Regions from separate parts of the Homo sapiens genome. Here region 1 is linked to region 2. Evidence: promoter capture Hi-C in human tissues and cell types (Jung and others, 2019). All regions are on one chromosome and are shown on one strand. Each heading gives the region's core, a stretch centred on a gene start or on the middle of the fragment in contact. The rest is flanking DNA. Distances are from core to core; before and after follow the strand shown. Region 1 has its middle 34 kb from the start of LINC02332. Region 2 holds the start of PSMB5 (proteasome 20S subunit beta 5).

Region 1 (3,184 bases), core at 13-2,512, 510 kb after region 2:
ATGGTTAAGAGAGTGGGCTAGGGGACAGGCAGGCCAGGCTCTTAATCTAGCTCTGCCCCTCATCTGCGGTGAGCCCTTGGGTAACTATTTCAACCTCTTTGCTTTAGTTTTACCTTTCACACTGTTTCCTCATCTGTGGAAGCGGAGATAGGTAATATCTATCCCAGAGGGTTGTTAGGAGGGTCAGATGAGTCAAGGTATGAAAGGTGCTTTGCATATTGCGAATGTTGAAGAAATGTTAGTTATTAGAGTATTTTCAAGAGGATCTAATTCTTTTCATCTTTAAATAATACATATAATTTTAATTTGTCATGTCTCCTCTCTGAAATCCTGGACATTCAGGGGTGCTTTAAATTATATCCAAATGCTCTTTTGTTCAGTAGCAACAGTTAAAATTTGGGCATTTTCCTTATAAAGAATAGCACCTTGAGAACATTGGCAGTTTCAGCATGTCTACTCGATCATGAGATTTGTTTACTACATATCTGTTCAAGTGACATATGAATAAGGACTAATAAAATATCATGGGTGGGGACCCAAAATGCAAAATAAAAGAACTGAAATACAGACTGAAAAGAAGAATTTAGCATAATGTGTTGGTAACTTTTTCTTCTAGGCAACTATAACTTACTTGGTTTTACATTGAGTTTGGTCCCAGATCCAAAGTAAAATTTGTTGAAGTTGTACACCATGTTTATTGGCATTACAAAAAATCCCCTGGCACTTCCTAAAAAGGAGACTTGTTATCCAGAGATGACTAACCAAATTAGACCAAGACTAACCCAACCCTACCAGTTCTTTGCTAATTCCCTGGAAAATTTGAGAACCAAAGTGAGGAATGAGCAGGGAAGGCACATTCATTATCAGAGACAGGCAAGATAAGGGCAACTGGTTTTCTTCAGTGGTTTTATTGATTTCTTTTCTTTAGTTTTCTGCTTGGGTTCATTCTTGTGTCCTCTGTGCTCAATGCACACAATATTTGAAACAGGACACTGCAAGTAAATGTTCTTTACCTTTCTCTTTTCCTAATTATAAATGAAAATTCCCCTCAGGTAGACTTAACTAAGGGGAAAATTCATATTCTGCATTTAGCTCCAGGGTGATCTGGAAGCTTCTCTCTGAGACTCTGTATCTGAATCTGGGTTGCACTTGACAACTAGACCTGAGCTTTTCTTAAGGACACCCCGAGCAACGCCAGCTGACCAGTGGTGCTCTGTATGTATGATCTAATAAGATCACTATAGCCTCTCTGTGACAGTACCTACATTATACAACCATGTATATTTTAGCATCCACATTGACACTCTCCTCCCAGACCCCACAGTCAAACTGTACATTTTGGCTTTTTTTTTTTTTTTGCTTCCTGCTTGCATATTCCCTTCAGAAAAAAAGAAACAAAGCAAAAGAAAAAAAAAGAGCCTGCAGTGTTAGTTGTCATTTGCAAGTCTAGATGAAACATTATTTATGGGTAAAATATTTTGCTGGCAATTTCAAGAGAAAAGAAACCTTAGTGCCAACAGTTAGACGCCCACACAGTTTGGAGTTAAACAGATCTCAACAAATGAACACAGTTATGAGAAGTAACACAGAAGTGACTTCAATCTAAGCCAAGTAATTATAATACTCATGCAATTTTGGAGGGCCAGGGGCTTACTTGTTCTCACTTGTAGAAATGATAAGCAATGTGTTACAGCAATGCTTTGCTGGAAGGGCACCAGAGAGCTATAGAAATAGAGCCTCATTTAAATATCTTAAATATAGGCACCTCTATGTTTAAAGACTTATTTAGAAATAGCTACTAGAATAGGCTAAAAATGTAAGTGACCAACTAGACTTGGTGTGAGACAGTTTTTGTAGCACGTAGGCTGGTCCTAGTGCAAATATTTTCAGAAGCAGAGGTTCCCCTTATGGAATCTGTTCCCATTATTCAGCAATTCTTCTAAGTTAAAATGAAATTTTTTTCTATTCATTTTCATTAACTCCTATTACTAAAAGCCTTAGCAAAAAGCTTCTCTTTCTCTTCTTGGTCTCTGATAAATAATTCTCTGCTCGCATTACCCTTTCTAGTATGCATTGTTGCTGTCTCTCCCCATCTTCAACCTCAGGCCCATTAAGTTACATGTACAGAATACATTTGTAGATTAGTAAATCAGTGCAAATAGTATTTAATTGAGGCAGCCTACCAGGTAAAACAGTCAATTGTGTCCCAGATCCAAAGGTCAGTTGCCTTGCAGAACCAGAAGAAACACTATGATTTGCTCAACAACAAAAACCAGATCAAACAGGCCAGGTTGGCAAAGCACTGAATAAAGAGCTGGCAGTGCTTCCTTTATGAATTAGGCCTGCATCACTGTTAATCTAGGTTTGGTCTGGAGTAGCCAAACTGACTTTCTACAAATCCTAAACTAACCCTCCTTCGTCTTTACAATCCCATTTTCTTTTAGGGGACCTTTGCTTTCCACTTTCCACTACAAAGTTCTAAACATTAACTGTGTATTTTCGATATATGTATAGAGCAAATACTCTCTGATTTTAGGTGTCAAAACAGCACTTGAATCTTTTCATCCAAGGAGACTCACAAAGTCCAGAATAGAGAATACGCCTCCTCTGTTGTGGGCATCACTGGATTATGTCATCAGAGAACTGTCTGAATTCTTGAATCCTCCTGAGACTGAGTCTATAGAATCAAAGTGAGGTAGGTACAGAGCTGGCATTGTCCAGTTAATTTGGCCACTCATTTCACACTGATAAAATAACTTTATAATAATCAATTATCAGACAAATTCCTAGTTTTCTACTTCACTTTTGGGCATTTCCCTTCTCCTGACTAAAGTGGTATGTGTGTTAGTTATCTGCTCAAGGACTTTAAACTGCAGCAAAAATTAGTTTTAGTATTTCCTAAGGAAGTGATGATAGTATAAGAGAGCCATGCCCAAGAGAAATCAGGGTAAGCATTGTCATATCTGGGAAGAAACATGGAATCCACCTCCAGAATGTAAGTTTCATGAAGGCAATATCACACTGAGTTTGCTTCCTGTTGGATCCCTGGTTTCAGCAACGAGCCTGGCAGAGGGCAAGTACATGAAAATATTTGTCAGATGAATCTTGCGGACTCTTCAAACTTCAAGTTTGAGCCAACTGACAGGTTTGGCAAATTAGAGACCTAAAATCTAGTTCTAGCTCA
Region 2 (3,472 bases), core at 786-3,285:
GCTATCAGTGGCAGAGTGAAAAACCACTGGAAGGAGGCAGAAAGACTAGTTGCACTGCAGGGGTGACTGCAAAATAATATATGCTCAGTAAACAGACGCACTCCGCATTTTCCACATCATCCAAGTGTGAAACACAAAGATCTCCTGTTTAATTCTATTCTGATGATTGGGCTTGGAAAGGGTTGCCAATTTCAGCATTAAAAATACAGCATAGGCCAGGCGCAGTGGTTCACACCTGTAATCCCAGCACTTTGGGAGGCCGGGGCAAGCGGATCACCTGAGGTCAAGAGTTTGAGACCAGCGTGGCCAATATGGTGAAACCCCATCTCTACTAAAAATACAAAAATTAGCCAGGCGTGAGGCCGGGCACGGTGGCTCATGCCTGTAATCCCAGCACTTTGGGAGGCCGAGGTGGGTGGATCACGAGGTCAGGAGATCAAGACCATCCTGGCTAACAAGCGGATCACCTGAGGTCAAGAGTTTGAGACCAGCGTGGCCAATATGGTGAAACCCCATCTCTACTAAAAATACAAAAATTAGCCAGGCGTGAGGCCGGGCACGGTGGCTCATGCCTGTAATCCCAGCACTTTGGGAGGCCGAGGTGGGTGGATCACGAGGTCAGGAGATCAAGACCATCCTGGCTAACACGGTGAAACCCCGTCTCTACTAAACACACACACACACACACACACACACACACACACACACACACACACAAATTAGCCTGTTGTGGAGGCAGGCGCCTGTAATCCCAGCTACTCGGGAGGCTGAGGCAGGAGAATCGCTTGAACCTGGGAAGCAGAGGTTGCAGTGAGCAGAGATCGTGCCACTGTGTTCCAGCCTGGGGGACACAGCAAGACTTGGTCTCAAAAAACAAACAAACAAACAAACAAAAACAATACAGCATATGCAGAGTCTGCTGGGGGAAAGATGGGGCCGAACTGGGCATCAGAGGAAAGTGGAATTTCGGTGTTGATAGATGTTGCTGCTAGAATCCAACAAGGAAGGCCAGAGACTGACTTCATAGAACCATAAAGCAGGAGGCAACATTTCATACATATGCACACTTCCCGGTTTGTTATAGTTCCCAAAAGATTTGAAAAATGAAGGTGGGTGGAGGGAGGAAGAGGCAATGAAATATAGTATGTTCCTGAATAAAAGGCATCATCTTAGCAAGTTGAAGTTAGAGAATCTCTTGGTACATATTTATGCAGTCTCAACCGTCCTCCCGTCTCTGAGATGGTAAATTACTACTGACACTTATTCAGGTCTGAACTGAGAATCTAGTTTGTGGATTAACTGGACCCTTTGCTTTTTCTTCTTCCATCTGCCTTTTAGGCAATTCATTACTTATTCGAATTTCCACCAGAAGGTAGGAGTCAAGAGAACGAATATTGGATATTAATAACCGGTTACTGTTAAAGAAGGGTTGCTGTATGGCGACTGACAACAAGAGGTATAGCACTTTTATTTTGTTGCGTTGTTTTACCACTAATTGCTGTGGTTTAACTAATATAGGGAAATGGCCTCAGAATGGATCATTATTTTACCCAATTTTAGAAGGTGCCCTTAAACAAGATGGCAACCTCAGGCGCGTTAACAAGGTGCTGAAGCAGCAGCGATGTAACCTGTTGCTTGGACACCAGGCTGGAGTGGGAGGACTCACCGCTAAGGGTTCAGAACCGATTTTCAACCAGTCACGCCCTTCTCAAAGATGGCCGACCTCACTTCCCTTACGCAACATGGACGTTTTCAGTCACTTCCTGTGATTTTGAGGTTATTCTGATCCAGGACTACTTGCATGACCAAAGCCAAGATGGCAGGTACGTCCTTTTAGAATTTAAGGTTAGTGAAGCCATCTATTTCCCCGACCCCCTTCAGTGAAAATGGTCTTTCGCATCTGGCTCTTCTTTTTGGAGGCGTGCTTGCCAGCAGTCAAAATGGCTCCATTCCGGAATAGATTTAATAGGAAGTGAAGCTGTGACGGCGAGGCGTTGCCCGGCCTATCTTTGCTAGGCGTTCTCAGAATTAGTTCTTTCTGCCCACACTAGACATGGCGCTTGCCAGCGTGTTGGAGAGACCGCTACCGGTGAACCAGCGCGGGTTTTTCGGACTTGGGGGTCGTGCAGATCTGCTGGATCTAGGTCCAGGGAGTCTCAGTGATGGTCTGAGCCTGGCCGCGCCAGGCTGGGGTGTCCCAGAAGAGCCAGGAATCGAAATGCTTCATGGAACAACCACCCTGGCCTTCAAGGTGTGGAGCCAGCCCCCTTGCCAGGCTGAGTACTGAACGCCCGCGACTTGCCTGGCCTCCCAGCCTGACCGGAGTTTGCGGTGGCCTTGGCCACCAACCCAGGCGGAGGCTGGGTCCTCTCGTTCGGACCGCAGCAGTTTTGCTGTCTCATTGGCCCAGGAGGCCCCTGTCTTTGCTCTGGTTGGAAAGGGTGGCGGTGGGGCCGGGGGTAAGTCGGGGGAGGAAGGTGAGGCCTCTTGGGTTGATTCCTAGGCGACCCCAGGTTGCTGCTGTTCAGGATCTTCTAGCTGGGAAAGGCCGCAACAACAATGAATCTTGGCCGAGGGAAGGCTATTGTAAACGTTTACCAAAGTTTTGGAAACTGGGCGGCCCCTCAAGGCAGGGGTAACTGAAACTGGCATGAAGGGGAAGCGTGGTGAGGGTAAGCATTGTACTAAGAATCAGACATTTGGGGTTCCTTGCCCAGCTCTGCAATAACTAGCTCTAGATTGAGAAATCATTTGATTTCATTGAACCTGTTTCCTCATCTATAAAATGATTTGTTTTTTTTTTTTTTTTGAAACAGGGCTTTTCGCTGTCGCTCAGGCTGGAGTGCAGTGGCTCCAGCGCCTCAGCCTCCAGAGTAGCTGACACTATAGGCACACACCACCACGACAGGCTAAGTTTTTTTACTTTTTGTAGAGATGGATCTCCCTGTGTTGCCCAGGCTGGTCTCCAGCACCTGGCCTCAAGCGGTCCTCCCGCCTTGGTCTCCCAAAATGCCTGGGTTACAGGAGTGAGCCACCACGCCCATCCTATAAAATGAATTTAATATGGGTTATATCCATGTCAAGGGATTGATGTGAAGCTCGGGTGACATTAATATATGGTGAAGTATAGAAGTATACTGTGAAGTATAAAAGGACGGAGAAAGAGATGTGCTGGGTTTGGATTGATGCAAAAAGAAGTATGTAGGAGTGTTTTTGTGGTCTTATGTGGCCTGTTTTGTGTTTTCCTCTGATCTTAACAGTTCCGCCATGGAGTCATAGTTGCAGCTGACTCCAGGGCTACAGCGGGTGCTTACATTGCCTCCCAGACGGTGAAGAAGGTGATAGAGATCAACCCATACCTGCTAGGCACCATGGCTGGGGGCGCAGCGGATTGCAGCTTCTGGGAACGGCTGTTGGCTCGGCAATGTCGAATCTATGAGCTTCGAAATAAGGAACGCATCTCTGTAGCAGC

What was found. The method cuts DNA at HindIII sites, captures the fragments that hold promoters and counts their contacts. A contact is called where the count stands out against the background at its distance.
Region 1: a fragment that was not itself captured here is called in contact with the fragment with the promoter of PSMB5 in region 2 in 1 of the 25 tissues and cell types used here (spleen).

The regions. Positions count from the first base shown.
Region 1 is chr14:22,521,102-22,524,285 of GRCh38, reverse strand. It overlaps TRA, TRAJ22 and TRAJ21. Among named protein-coding and RNA genes, the nearest start is that of LINC02332, 34 kb to the left of the region's middle. The HindIII fragment of the contact is 5,765 bases long and covers 1-3,184 here.
Region 2 is chr14:23,033,463-23,036,934 of GRCh38, reverse strand. It overlaps PSMB5 (proteasome 20S subunit beta 5), which reads left to right and starts at 2,035. Exons shown (of 3, transcript NM_002797.5): 1 at 2,035-2,251; 2 at 3,261-3,472. The coding sequence starts at 2,054. RefSeq lists enhancers at 1,561-1,855, 1,640-2,309, 1,110-2,309. The HindIII fragment of the contact is 21,864 bases long and covers 1-3,472 here.